Linked DNA regions of Homo sapiens: regions 1 and 3 are each linked to region 2. Evidence: promoter capture Hi-C in 16 types of primary human blood cells and fetal thymus (Javierre and others, 2016). All regions are on one chromosome and are shown on one strand. Each heading gives the region's core, a stretch centred on a gene start or on the middle of the fragment in contact. The rest is flanking DNA. Distances are from core to core; before and after follow the strand shown. Region 1 overlaps GPLD1 (glycosylphosphatidylinositol specific phospholipase D1). Region 2 holds the start of KIAA0319. Region 3 overlaps LOC124901280 (a long non-coding RNA gene).

Region 1 (4,345 bases), core at 888-3,387, 200 kb after region 2:
GGAACCATGAACACAGGGGCAGGTACCTGCTGCTATGGAGCGCACTGAGCATGAGGCTGAGGGAAAAGGGCTAGGAAATGCTTGACTTTTGAAGGAAAAGCCAAGGCTCTGGGCAAGATTGCAAATTCTCCTCCTTAGAAATTTAAAAATACAATAGACAAATGTATTATTTTCTCACAGTTCTGGAAGCTAGACGTCCAAGATCAAGGTTGAGGTCAGAGGGTTGGTTTCTCCTGAGGCCTGTCTCCTTGGCTTGCAGATGGCTGTCTTCCCTCTCTGTGTGTCTGTGCCCCATTCCTCACTTCTGTTTTTTCTTTTGGGAGGAGGGGGTGAGGGTTCACTCTGTTGCAAAGGGCAGAGGGCAGTGGTAACTCACTGCAGGCTCGAACTCGTCCTCCTGCCTCGGCCTCCTGAATAGCTGGGACTACAAGTCGTGTGTGCCCATGCCTAGCTAATTTTTTTTTTTAATTTAAAAACATTTTTATAGGGATGGGTTTTTGCAGTGTTGCCCAGGCTCGTCTCAAACTGGCCTCAAGTGATCCTCCTGCCTCTCCTCTTCTTTGAAAGACACCAGTCCTATTGGATCAGGATCCACCCAAATGACCTCATCGTAACTTAATCACCTCTTTAAAGACTCTGTCTTCAAGTAGTCACATTCAGAGATACTGGGGGTTAGGGCTTCAGTGTAGGGATCGGGGGGACCACCACTGAGCCCATAACAGTAGGTACCCCTATATCTCTATCCCAGAGAGTCTGCTGGGAGGCCTGTCAGTTGGGAGGCAGGATGGTGGGTGTGGCACCTGGAGAGCCTGGATGTTGCGATTAACTCCAATAGTCCCCACACTTCCAGGCCTGGGGTCGCAGAGACAGAGCCTGCTGGGAGGCCTGGATGGGGGGAGGTGCATTTCCTTTCCTTGCTCCTGAGTACCTGGCCAGCTGTCAGTCTTGTGCCCTGGCAGCTAAGCCCAGTGTGCTTCATTCTAGGCTGGGCCATTTGTTACACATCCGAGATGAGAAAAAGAGCCTTGGGAGGGTGTATGGCTACTTCCCACCAAACGGCCAAAGCTGGTTTACCATTTCTGGAGACAAGGTATGACAAGCCCTCCCCACACAGGAGAGTGGACACTCCAAGGAAGTTTTCTCACCTATACAATATTGATTTATTGTGTCTCACAGGCAATGGGGAAACTGGGTACTTCCCTTTCCAGTGGCCACGTACTGATGAATGGGACTCTGAAACAAGTGCTGCTGGTTGGAGCCCCTACGTACGGTAGGTCACACACTGTGAAACTGTGCTTCCTTTCAGTCATGTGGCTGCTTGTACATGTCGTATTGGAGGAAAGTGATGAGATCTGGAGCTGAACAGATCTAGGTTTCAATATTTCCTTTTTTCATTAATAACATTCTGTGTAACTTTGGGGAAGTTACTTAACCTCTCAGAACTTTTGTATCACCATCTACAAAACTGAAATTGTAAATACCTATTTCAGGCCGGGTGCGGTGGCTCACACCTGTAATCCCAGCACTTTGGGAGGCCAAGGTGAGAGAATCACTTGAGGTCAGGAGTTGGAGACCAGCCTGGCAACATGGTGAAACTTTGCCTCTACTAAAAATACAAAAATTAGCCAGGTGTGGTGGTGCATACCTGTAATCCCAGCTACTCGGGAGGCTGAGGCAGGAGAATCGCTTGAATCTGGGAGGCAGAAGTTGCAGTAAGCCAAGATCATGCCACTGCACTCCAGCCTGGGCAACAGAGCAAGACTTCATCTCAAAAATAAAATAAAAATAAAATAAAATAAGATAAAATAAAATTTGTGTTTCAAAGCTTTGTTGAAAATGACATATGAAAGTAACTTAGTGTATTTTTAAAGCCCCTATCCCATGGAACTTGGAGCCAGAGAAAAATTGTATAAGTCAGTTCACTAGGAATAGGTCCACTATGAGGACCTATCTTTTATTTTTCTTTTTTGAGACAGTCTTGCTGTGTCGCCCAGGCTGGAGTGCAGCGGTGTGATTATGGCTTATGGCAGCCTTGACCTCCTGGGCAAAGTGAACCTTGCACCTCAGCCTCCTGAGTAGCTGCGACTACAGGCAGTCAGCCACCACATTATCTAATTTTTTATTTTTTGTAGCGAGAGGGTCTCAACATGTTGGCCAGACTGGTCTCTAACTCCTGGGCTCAAGTAATCCTCCCACCTTGGTCTCCCAAAGTGCTGGGATTACAGGCATGATCCACTGCACCCACCCCTGAAAACATACTTTATATAAACCATTATTTTGTTTACTTTATGGGAAAGATAGTCTTTAAAAAAAAAAATAAATAAGAACCATTTCCTCCCAGATTATAAAGGTGAATTATGCTTATTGTGGAAACTTCTGAAAATACAAGGAAATATATAGAAGGAAAAAAAAAACACCCCTTACCCAGATATTTAAAAACTGAAGCTTATACTATATATGATATTGTCATGCCTAATTTTTTTACTTATATCTTAAGCACATTCTCATGTTAGTAAATATTCTTCTAAAACATGACTTTTGATATCTGCATTGCATTTTTTTAATGCCAGCATTTACTAACATCATCCTGTTGCTGGAATTGTAGGCTCGTTTCCAGTTTCACACTATTGTGAATAAGTAATTATTGAACACTCATGTACCTAGTCTTTGACTGCCTTTCTGATTAGTTTTTTGGATAGATTCCTGGAGATGGAATTACTGGAGTAGAGGTTCTAATCTTTCTAAAAGCTCTTGTTATATATCATCAAACTATTTTTCAGAAAGATTGTTGTTTCTTGCAATATGGGAAAGATTTGAATAATAAGCAGAAGTGGGTCAGACAGGCGGGGTGCAGTGGCTCACGCCTGTAATCCTGGCACTTTGGGAGGCAGAGGTGGGTGGATCAGTTGAGGTCAGGAGTTAGAGACCAGCCTGGCCAACATGGTGAAACCTGTCTAAACCTACTAAAAATACACAAATTAGCCAGGCATAGTGGCACGCTCCTGTAATCCCAGCTACTCCTGAGCCTGAACCACAACAATTGCTTGAACCCTGGAGGCAGAGGTTGCACTGAGCCAAGATGACACCACTGCACTCCAGCCTGGGTGACAGAGTGAGACTCAGTCTCAAAAACAAAAAAACAAAAAAACAAGTGGATTAGGCAAAGGAATGGCTAAATTTTTCATTAAATCGAAGACACAGCATTATAACAAAAAAAAAGTGCTGACTTAGCTTTGGAATCATGTTGGAAGCCAAAAGAATGAGGGTCGTGATAACTCAGTATACCACTGGAGGCTATTTGAGTAAGCAGCAAAACTGTTTCTCATAAATGCAGAATGTTGGCAAACTGACAAACTGCATTTGCCACCCAGAAGGAAAGCTGAGGGCAGTCACGCCCCAAGTGCCGTGTTTCTTGTGATTAGGCACATCTGAAGCCTGTTAATAATAATATGAACCTGTGATCAATTAAGCAGCTGACCAATCGTTACCTCCTCCTCCCTGCTTTTGCTAACCAATAAATGGGAAGGGCTGTGGAAGCTCGGGAGCTAGCTGCCTTTGCTCACTAGAAGCCGGGAGCTCTCTTCTTCCTCGGTTCCCCTTCCTTTAAAACAGTTTCTTTTGCTTCAAGTTTTCATTTCTACGTTCGTCCTCCTTCGTTCAGTCTTGTAATGACGCTCTCAAGCAGTAACAGTAGTAATTGCTGTGATGACGGTCTCAAGTAGTAACCATAGCAGTCAGCCACAGAATCATTTTTGCTTTTCAGAGTCTAGGGAATGATTTCTAAGCTCTTGCAACACACATTATTAACTTTATTTTCTTCACCACTCTTTCTACCCAAGTGTTGTGAATTAGAGTTTCTCAAACTTTCTTGGTTTTGGTGCCCTTACTCTCTTGATAATTTTTTTTCCTATGATAAAGTCCAATATAAAATAGAAGGTCAGGCATGGTGGGTCATGCCTGTAATCGCAGCACTTTGGGAGGCTAAGGCAGGAGGATCACTGGAGGCCAAGAGTTCAAGACCAGCCTGGGCAACACAGTGAGACCCTGTCTCTACAAAAAATTTTAAAAATTGGGCCAGGCGCAGTGGCTCATGCCTGTAATCTTAGCACTTTGGGAGGCTGAGGTGGGTGGATCATGAGGTCAGGTGATCGAGACCATCCTGGCTAACACAGTGAAACCCTGTCTCTACTAAAAACACAAAAAATTAGCTGGGCGTGGTGGTGGGCACCTGTAGTCCCAGCTACTTAGGAGGCTGAGGCAGGAGAATGGCGTGAATCCCGGAGCCAGAGCTTGCAGTGAGCTGAGATTGTGCCACTGCACTCCAGCCTGGGTGACAGAGTGAAAT
Region 2 (4,680 bases), core at 1,343-3,842:
TATCTTGAGTTTTTTACTTGGAATTTTTCAAAGTTTTTCCAGTGTAGTAGCTTTGCTTGCCTTACCTTCCTGCTTAGTGAAATTCCAACATAGAATCTTCTGGGTTTTTTTTTTTTTTTTTTTCAGTCTCAACCTCCTGGGCACAAGTGATCCTCTAGCCTCAGACTCTTGGGTAGCTGGGATTACAGGTGTGCACCACACACCCAGCTACTTTTTATTTGTTTTTGTTTTTTGTACAGAGAGGATCTTGCTATGTTGCCCAGGCTGGCCTCGAACTCCGGGGCTCACTCAATCCTCCTGCCTCGCCCACAAAGTGCTGGGATTATAGGCATGAGCCACTGTACGTGGCCTAAAGTCTTGTATTTCAATGAGGCAGCACTGTCATTACGCTAAGCACCATTTTTACCACTGATGTGGAATGTACTTTAACCTTCCTAAACCTCAGTTTTACCCACCCTCAAAATAAGTTATCTTTTATTGTACAAATGTCCCAACCAAAAGCATAAGCAAGAGCAGACAAAGTTAATTATACTAAGGATACATCATTTTATCCTTACTACCTCTTGCAGTGTCTGGCATATAGTAGGAGCTCAATGGATGTCCACTGAATGCTGAAAAGAAGTGAAAGGTAGTAGCCTCACATCTGTGTCCTAAAGAAGGAGACTAACATTTTCATACAATACCAAAATAGATATATTCATTAAAAATGAAAATAGATATTCATTACAGTGTCTCTGAGTTAAAAAGATGGTATAGTTAAACATTCTGGGCTAAGCCTGTGTGTGTGTGTATGTGCTAAAAATATGTTTCTTTAAAGGCTAATCAGCCAAGGATCGTTGGGGACAAAATCAGATTCATTGGCTTGATGCATTGAAAGAGTACCTGTGGAATGCCATGTGAGCACAGAAAGGAGGAAGTGTCTTTTGTAAAGATTTGGCTTCCTATTAAAGGATTCCAGGGAGAGTCTTGGAATCAGAGCTGGGATCCAGTTGGTTGCTGTTTCTGAGGCAGATTGAGAGAAAGGGGGATTAATGAGGGATTGGGTGCTGTCAGGAGGTGAAGGGAGTTTAGCAATTGGGTATCCCCAGTTATGGATGGGAATAGTAAAGCAAAGGTAGAAAGTAGTAGTCATTCAAAAATGGAACACAAGGAGTTGTGTTGTTTTGTACCTGCTGCGTGACTTCAGAGGAAACAACATTGCCTGTTAATTTTGCTTCTGACTTTGTCCTCTCAGCCTGATCATTGATCATTGGCAGTACTAACTTTTCCAAGTCCAAGCTGATTTTCACTCTTTGAGTCCTGGACAGGTTTTTACTCTTTAGTTTTTATTTATTTATTTATTTATTTATTTATTTATTTATTTATTTATTTATTTATTTTGAGACGGAGTCTTGCTCTGTCGCCCAGGCTGGAGTGCAGTGGCACGATCTCGGCTCACTGCAACCTCCGCCTCCTGGATTCAAGCGATTCTCCTGCCTCAGCCTCTCAAGTAGCTGGAACTACAGGCGCGGGCCACCACTCCCGGTTAATTTTTTGTATTTTTAGTAGAGACGGGGGTTTCACCGTGTTAGCCAGAATGGTCTCGATCTCCTGACCTCGTGATCCGCCCGCCTCGGCCTGCCAAAGTGCTAGGATTACAGGCGTGAGCCACCGCACCCAGCTGGTTTTTACTCTTTAAATGTGCATTATCTTATTTGATTCCCAGAATCATCCTATATGAATGCTATTATCTTCATTTTATAATTGAGGAAACAGGTTTATCTAGATTAGGTAACTTGTCTGAGGCTCTTCGGTAAATACGAGTAGCCAAGAAGCTTATTCATCAACAGTGTGTGACTCAGCCCTAAGCACTGCACTTATACCTCCTAGTAATGAGATGTGCGAGGAATGCCCTGGCTACCTTTTCTGCTCATGATATTATCCCTAGATGCTTTCGCATCTTTATTAAAACAGTAAAAATGCAAGAGTCTTCCACCCAAGTTTTCTGTGGTTTAGATTATCACGTTCCTCAAGATGCAAATGTCAAACTATACTGGGCATCCAGTTAACCTGCAAGGCCTGGAGGTGATGGGAGCCCCTCCTAGCACAGGTTCCCAGTCTCAGTCAGAAAGCACCTGCTCAAAATAGAAAGATAATTACAGAGTAGGGGCCAAAGAGACTCCCACTGGAAGAATGGAACTTGTGTAGCTGGGGTGACACAAGCTGGGGACAAGCTGGGGGACACATTCGCGAAGGGTGTTTGACCCAGGCAGTGCACCCACGGCTCCCTTGAGCCACCCTGGCCCGGGTGTTTATTTGGAAGGAGTGTTCATCCCCCAGACTGTTTAGGGCCACGGTGACAGGGAAGGGCTTGGTGAAGGAAAGCAGGTAGGGTATGAAGGCCGCTCAGGTTCACGAAAGACTTTTGCTTGGTCCCCTGCGGGGTGGGAGTGTGTCGCCCCGGTGCGGGTACTTAGAGCGCAACCGGGGAGCTGAGCAGGGGAGCTGAGCAGGGGAGCTGGGCAGGGGCGGCTGCCGCGCCCCACATCCCTGAGGGCGTGTGTGCGCGTGCGCGCGCGTCGCCGTGGTAACCGCGGCGGCGGAAAGGCGCTGAATCACTGGCGCGCGCTTTCCCCGAGCCTGCAGAAGCTGCCGCGGGCGGTGGGCGGGGATCCCCCGGGGGTGCAACCTTGCTCCACCTGTGCTGCCCTCGGCGGGCCTGGCTGGCCCCGCGCAGAGCGGCGGCGGCGCTCGCTGTCACTGCCGGAGGTGAGAGCGCAGCAGTAGCTTCAGCCTGTCTTGGGCTTGGTCCAGATTCGCTCCTCTGGGGCTACGTCCCGGGGAAGAGGAAGCGAGGATTTTGCTGGGGTGGGGCTGTACCTCTTAACAGCAGGTGCGCGCGCGAGGGTGTGAACGTGTGTGTGTGTGTGTGTGTGTGTGTGTGTGTGTGTGTGTGTGTGTGTAAGACCTGCGATGACGACGAGGAGGAACAAGTGGGACGGCGAGTGATGCTCAGGGCCAGCAGCAACGCATGGGGCGAGCTTCAGTGTCGCCAGCAGTGACCACAGGTACGGTATCTACTTCCCAGAGCGCCTGGCCGAGAAATAGGAAAGAGGGCAGCCAGTAGGCAGGCCAATACCCAACAAAAGTAGAATCGAGACGCCCTGAGTTCAGAAGGTGAGTTTCTTAAGATTCTTCTGGGCATTCAGGAAAGGGCATTTTTTGATTGCTGCACTGATTGTTGACTAGTAGGGTGGAGTCGGGGAAATTTGAGTGTCTTTTCCCAACCTCACGAATTGCATTTTTTTAGAAGTAAGGAATCGTTTTCTTTAAACTTCATTCAGAACTATTTATGTGATCTTTCCTATTATTTGCTAAATGCATTTTGTCTCTGTTCCTTACCATAACCTGAAGCTTAAAATCTTTCTCTTCTTCCCTTTGAATTCCCTCCAAGGAATGTCACAAATTAATCGGGAGGATAAACCTGAAATTTTGAGAGTTATCATCTTAAGGTCATTTGTTAATTAAATACAAGGAGGAAAAATATGATATACATACTCATGTGCACTTTTATTGCTGGTTTGTTCATCAAAACATTTTTGTTTGTCGGTGAAATGTTAGTATTTTTTCCACTGCTTGAATTGAAAAGTTGAATGATGTTTTTGATAGTAACAGAAAAAATAAATTGTAGACAATGTTCCCCCCCACACACAAGAATTTTGGAAGTAAATGTTGGTATTTATTTCTTTATTCCTGAAATACATGCTCACTTTCCAAATGCTTCAATTTATTATAAGAAGACCACAATTGTAGAGACTACTAAAGTTATGCCAAATCTAAACTTTTATTTTGTGCTTTTTTTAGTATTATTTTTAATTCAGATGAGGAAAACTGGAGGTGTCAGTTCAGTTATAGACGTAGGAGTCACAGAGAAAGGTGAATTCCTCTGTAATTTGAAAAAGGGAAATGTAAACATATTACCTAAGTACTCTGATTTATTTGTATTAACCATTTGTAATGCATTTGCATTTGTAATGCAAAATGCCGAGGCAAGAACTTAATTTTTGTTTCGAAATAATGAAAATAATTCAGCCAAAATCTTTATGAATTAAAAATAGCCAAAAGAGAGCTTTGGTAATGTATGAATGTAAAAGAATAGAGTTGCTGTTAAATTTTCTTGACTTTTTTTTTTTCCCTAGCCAATAGATAGGAAGCATTCTCTTTAAATAAATACAGTAAGTCCTCACTTAACATTCTTGATACGTTCTTGGAAACTGTGAACCTTTAAGCACAACGAGGTATAAGGAAACCAATTTTACCACAGGCTAATTGATATAAACAAGAGTTAAGTTCCTACAGCATATTTCTGGTCATAAAAAAATCACCAAACTTCTAAATAAAGACCACAACACTTCTAATATTAAACATAGAAATAAATGGGATCTATACATACAGTTAAGAAGGATTAGTAAAAACAAGATCATTATTTACCCAATTATTACAGTTCAAGGTCATGGGTAGCCAGAGTCTCCCTGGTTCAGAGTGGGAACCCCCCCCTCTCCCCTGTCCAGGAAGCTATCCCATCACAGGGTGCACTTTCACAGACACACCCACTCACTCAGACGGGGACCATGTAGACATATGCACAGCTTTGGGATGTGAAGGAAACCGAAGCCCAGAGAAAACCCACGCAGACATGAG
Region 3 (4,381 bases), core at 1,696-4,195, 140 kb before region 2:
ACCAATTAAAATGTATCAATTCATGTAAGGATAAAAAGAAAAGAAGTAGCTTCTTCTGTATCTTTCCAGAAGTATTCTTTCTATATATAAGAAAATATACATCTATCCCTTACGTCGTCCTTGTTTTAACATATAGTAGCATTCTATACATACATAATTTATTTCACACTTTGTTCTACATCTTAAAGAGTTTGATTCTTTTCCATTGCTTCAGAGTATTTCATTGTATGACTGTACTATACAGTTGACCCTTGAACAATATGGGTTTGAACTGCTCAGGTCCACTTATATGAAGATTTTCTTCTGCCTCGGCCACCCGAGACAGCTAGTCTGCCACCGAGACTCCCCTTCAGCCTACTCAATATGAAGATGATGAGGATGAAGACCCTTATGATGAACCACTTCTGCTTAATGAATAGTAAAAAATATTTTCTCTTCTTTATGATCGGCTTAATTCTTTTCTCTACCTTACTTTATTGTAAGAACACAGGATATAGGCCGGGTGCAGTGGCTCACGCCTGTAATCCCAGCACTTTGGGAGGCCGAGGAGGGTGGATCATGAGGTCAGGAGATCGAGACCATCCTGGCCAACATAGTGAAACCCCATCTCTACGAAAAATACAAAAATTAGCCGGGCATGGTGGTGTGTGCCTGTAGTCCCAGCTACTCAGGAGGCCGAGGCAGGAGAATCGCTTGAACCCAGGAGGCGGAGGTTGCGGATCGCACCACTGCACTCCAGCCTGGTAAACAGAGCGAAACTCCGTCTCAAAAAACAAAAAACAAAAAAAACAACAACACAGGATATAATACATATAACATACAAAATATGTGTTAATCAACTGTTTATATTATCAGCAAGGCTTCCAGTCAACATTAGGCTAATCATTAAGTTTTGAGAGAGTAAAAAATTATATGCAAGGCTGAGCATAGTGGCATGCCTGTAATCTCAGCTACCTGTAAGACTGAAGCAGGTGGATCACTTGAGCCCAGCCTAAAAAACATAAGACCTTGCCTCAAATAAAAAACTAATTTCAGCCGGGTGGGGTGGGGCTCATGCCTGTAATCCTAACACTTTGGGAGGCCTAGATGGGAGGATTGCTTGAATCGAGGAGTTCGAGACCCGTCTTGGCAACATAGTGAGACATCTCTACAAAAAAAATCAGCCAGGTGTGGTGGTGTGTGCCTATAGTCCCAGCTACTTGGGAGGCTGAGGCAGGAGGATCGCTTGAGCCCAGGAGGCAGAGGTTGTAGTGAGCCAAAATTGTGCCACTGCACTCCAGGTGACAGAGTGAGACCGTCTCAAATAACAATTTCAAAACAGAGAATTTATCTAGGTCAGGTGTGGTGGCTCACGCCTGCAATCCTGGCACTTTGGGAGGCTGAGGTGGGCAGATCACCTGAGTCCAGGAGTTTGAGACCAGCCTGGCCAACATGGTGAAACCCCCATCTCTACTAAAAATACAAAAATTAGCCAAACATGGTGGTGTGTGCCTGTAATCCCAGCTACTCGGGAGGCTGAGGCAGGAGAATCACTGGAAGCCAGAAGCAGAGGTTGCAGTGAGCCAAGATCACACCACTGCACGCAAGCCTGGGTGATAGAGCCAGACTCCATCTCAAAAAAAGAAAAAAAAAGAAAAAAGAAAAATTATCTAAATTTTAAAAGCAGAAGATAGCCAAAGAAAATTTATATTAGCCAGGCGTGGTGGCACGCGCCTGTAGTCACAGGTACTCGGGAGGCTGAGGCAGGAGAATCTCTTGAACCCAGGAGGCGGAGGTTGCAGTAAGCTGAGATGGTGCCACTGCACTCCAGCCTGGGCGACAGAGCTGAGACTGTCTCAAAAAAAAAAAAAAAAAAAAGAAAAGAAAAATTTATATGCAGATTTTCAACTGCACAGGTGTTGGCTTCCCTAATGGCTGCCTTGTTCAAGGGTGAACTGTAATTTATACAACCAGTCCTATACTGATGAACATTTAAGTTATTTCCAATATTTTGATAGTTCAAAGTTGTAATGAATAACCTTAAATATGTGTAATTTCACATGTGTGAGCATATCTGTTGAATAAATTTCTAGAAATGGAATTGCTTAGCCATACTTACATCGTTTGCTTTTGTTTTATTCTGTTCCCTGCATTGTGACTTTTGCCTCAACTTCTGTTGACTCTGCTTGGTCAGCACGGGATTATGATGTTTTTTACAGCTTACTGTCATTTTAATAATGTTTGGGAAAGACAGAAATTAAATGGCTCTGTTCAATTAACATGTTTAACCAGAAATTGCTGAAGGCCTCTCTGTGACAATGTTTACAGAAATTTTGGTTAACATTTTATCTACAGAAGATTAGCTTATAAGGTAGTCTAATAATATGTTCTATTCAAATTCCTTTTTGGTCTCTGGAACCTCTTTAAGTTGAAGGAGGTAAGATACAAGGTTCAGATTCGAGCTGAGGCATTTTTACTGTAAACCTTGAATTTTAAGCTGGCTTACCAAAGCTTTAACAACAGTGATTTTGTTTTCCTTTGCTGTCCCTCCTAAGTTCATCTCTCCCAACTTTTGAGTTTTGCTAGAAGCAAATCAGAGGATTTGCTTAAGGATTTGAAAGATATTATTTGGGAGGTGATCTCGGGAACTAGCAATAGGGAAGGGAAGAAAGCCAATAAAAGATGTATTATGAAGAAAGCTGCCACTGTAGGTAAACGGAAGCTTAATCCTGCTGGGGAACCATCTGGTAAACACACAACACACATGCCTTAAGAATTATTTCATCCAGAGGTCCCAAGGAGCTCAGATATGTATACACCAATTCTTATCCTTCTTGGTTGACCTAACAACCTAATTAGTTACAACCTAAAAGTCAACTGAAATATCTTGAAGGGTGTGGGATAGGCAAGGAAGTTTTCTAAACAAACCAAAATTACGAGGGCCGTAAGGCAGTGTGGTGGACGTTTGTTGCGTTTTGGCTCACTAGAATTTATTCTTTCTTCTAATAACACGTCAGTTTATTTGGGGGAGATATCTTACCCATGGTGTAGTCTTAAAATTCATTTCTATCTGCTCTTGGATTAGCTTTTCTCTTCCCTTCCTATAATTATCCTTTATTTGGTCTCATTGCATCCACCTCCAAAAGAATTGGAAATAATTGTGGTCCATCCTTTTCTAGCTCTTGACCTTGAAACTAATTCCAAAGCTTCACCATTAAGCATTATGTTAAGCATGGGTAGCATAGTTTATTTCAGGTTAAAATTCTTTTCTTTTCCTAGCTTACCAAGGGTTTTTACCAGAAAGGGTGTTGAATTTTATCAATGCTATTTTACCATCTATTAAGATGATATGCTTTTTCCCCTTTAATATAAAGAACTTCATGTTTACTAATATTATAGCAGTCTTGCATTCCTGAGATAAACCCTAACTTGGTCATCGTTTTATCTTTTAGTAGATTAGACTTGCCATTTTATTTATGATTTTTCAATCTGTATTAATAAGGCTCTAGATTCCCCTACTCCAACCTTACGGTCCATCCTCATTACCTTCTTTTTTTTTTTTTTTTTTTTTTTTTTGAGATGAGGTTTCGCTCGTTGCCCAGGCTGGAGTGCAAAGACGCGACCTTGGCTCACTGCATCCTCTACCTCCTGGGTTCAAGCAATTCTCCTGCCTCAGCTTCCCAAATAGCTGGGACTACAGGCATGCACCATCACGCCTGGCTAATTTTGTATTTTTAGTAGACAGGTTTTCACCATGTTTGTCAGGCTGGTCCTGAATTCCTGACCTCAGGTGATCTGCCCACCTGGGCCTCCCAAAGTGCTGGGATTACAGGCATAAGCCACCACACCTGGCTGGTCCATCCTCAAATCTTGATATCAGTTATGCTAGCCTTGTAAAATATATTGACAAATTAGTTCAGTCTAATCCAGGCTTCATGCATACTGTTTTTCCAACTGATTCTTATCCATTTGCCATTTCCTTAACGAAGCTCGACTGCATTTTATTAAACCAACTTCAAAGAACTTGTTCTAATGGGCCAGGCTTGATTGACTCCCTGACCCCTTCTCCAAGGTATTTTCATTGACATGTTTTTTGTTTTGTTGAGACAGAGCCTCACTCTGTTGCCGAGGCTGGAGTGCAGTGGCGCAATCTATGCTCACTGCAACTTCTGCCTCCCAGATTCAAGCAATTCTTGTGTGCCTCAGCCTCCCGAAGAGCTGTGACTACAGGTGTGCACCACCACGCCCAACTAATCTTTTGTATTTTTAGTAGACAAAGCATTTTGCCATGTTAGCCAGGCTGATGTTGAACTCCTGTCCTCAAGTGATCTGCCTGCCTCAGCCTCCCAAAGTGTAGGGATTACAGGCGTAGCCATCACACCCGGCTGACATGCTATACTAA

The links. The method cuts DNA at HindIII sites, captures the fragments that hold promoters and counts their contacts. A CHiCAGO score of 5 or more calls a contact.
Region 1: a fragment that was not itself captured here is called in contact with the fragment with the promoter of KIAA0319 in region 2 in 3 of 17 cell types (megakaryocytes, M1 macrophages and total B cells); the score reaches 5.2 in megakaryocytes.
Region 3: a fragment that was not itself captured here is called in contact with the fragment with the promoter of KIAA0319 in region 2 in 1 of 17 cell types (neutrophils); the score reaches 5.2 in neutrophils.

Annotation. Positions count from the first base shown.
Region 1 is chr6:24,442,471-24,446,815 of GRCh38, reverse strand. It overlaps GPLD1 (glycosylphosphatidylinositol specific phospholipase D1), which reads left to right. Exons shown (of 25, transcript NM_001503.4): 19 at 985-1,090; 20 at 1,177-1,270. Among named protein-coding and RNA genes, the nearest start is that of MRS2, 42 kb to the right of the region's middle. The HindIII fragment of the contact is 620 bases long and covers 1,828-2,447 here.
Region 2 is chr6:24,644,103-24,648,782 of GRCh38, reverse strand. KIAA0319 reads left to right here and starts at 2,592. Exons shown (of 21, transcript NM_014809.4): 1 at 2,592-3,047. RefSeq lists a silencer at 2,538-2,747. The HindIII fragment of the contact is 1,579 bases long and covers 1,817-3,395 here.
Region 3 is chr6:24,788,766-24,793,146 of GRCh38, reverse strand. LOC124901280 (a long non-coding RNA gene) reads left to right here. Exons shown (of 3, transcript XR_007059510.1): 3 at 280-348. Among named protein-coding and RNA genes, the nearest start is that of ARMH2, 8.0 kb to the left of the region's middle. The HindIII fragment of the contact is 484 bases long and covers 2,704-3,187 here.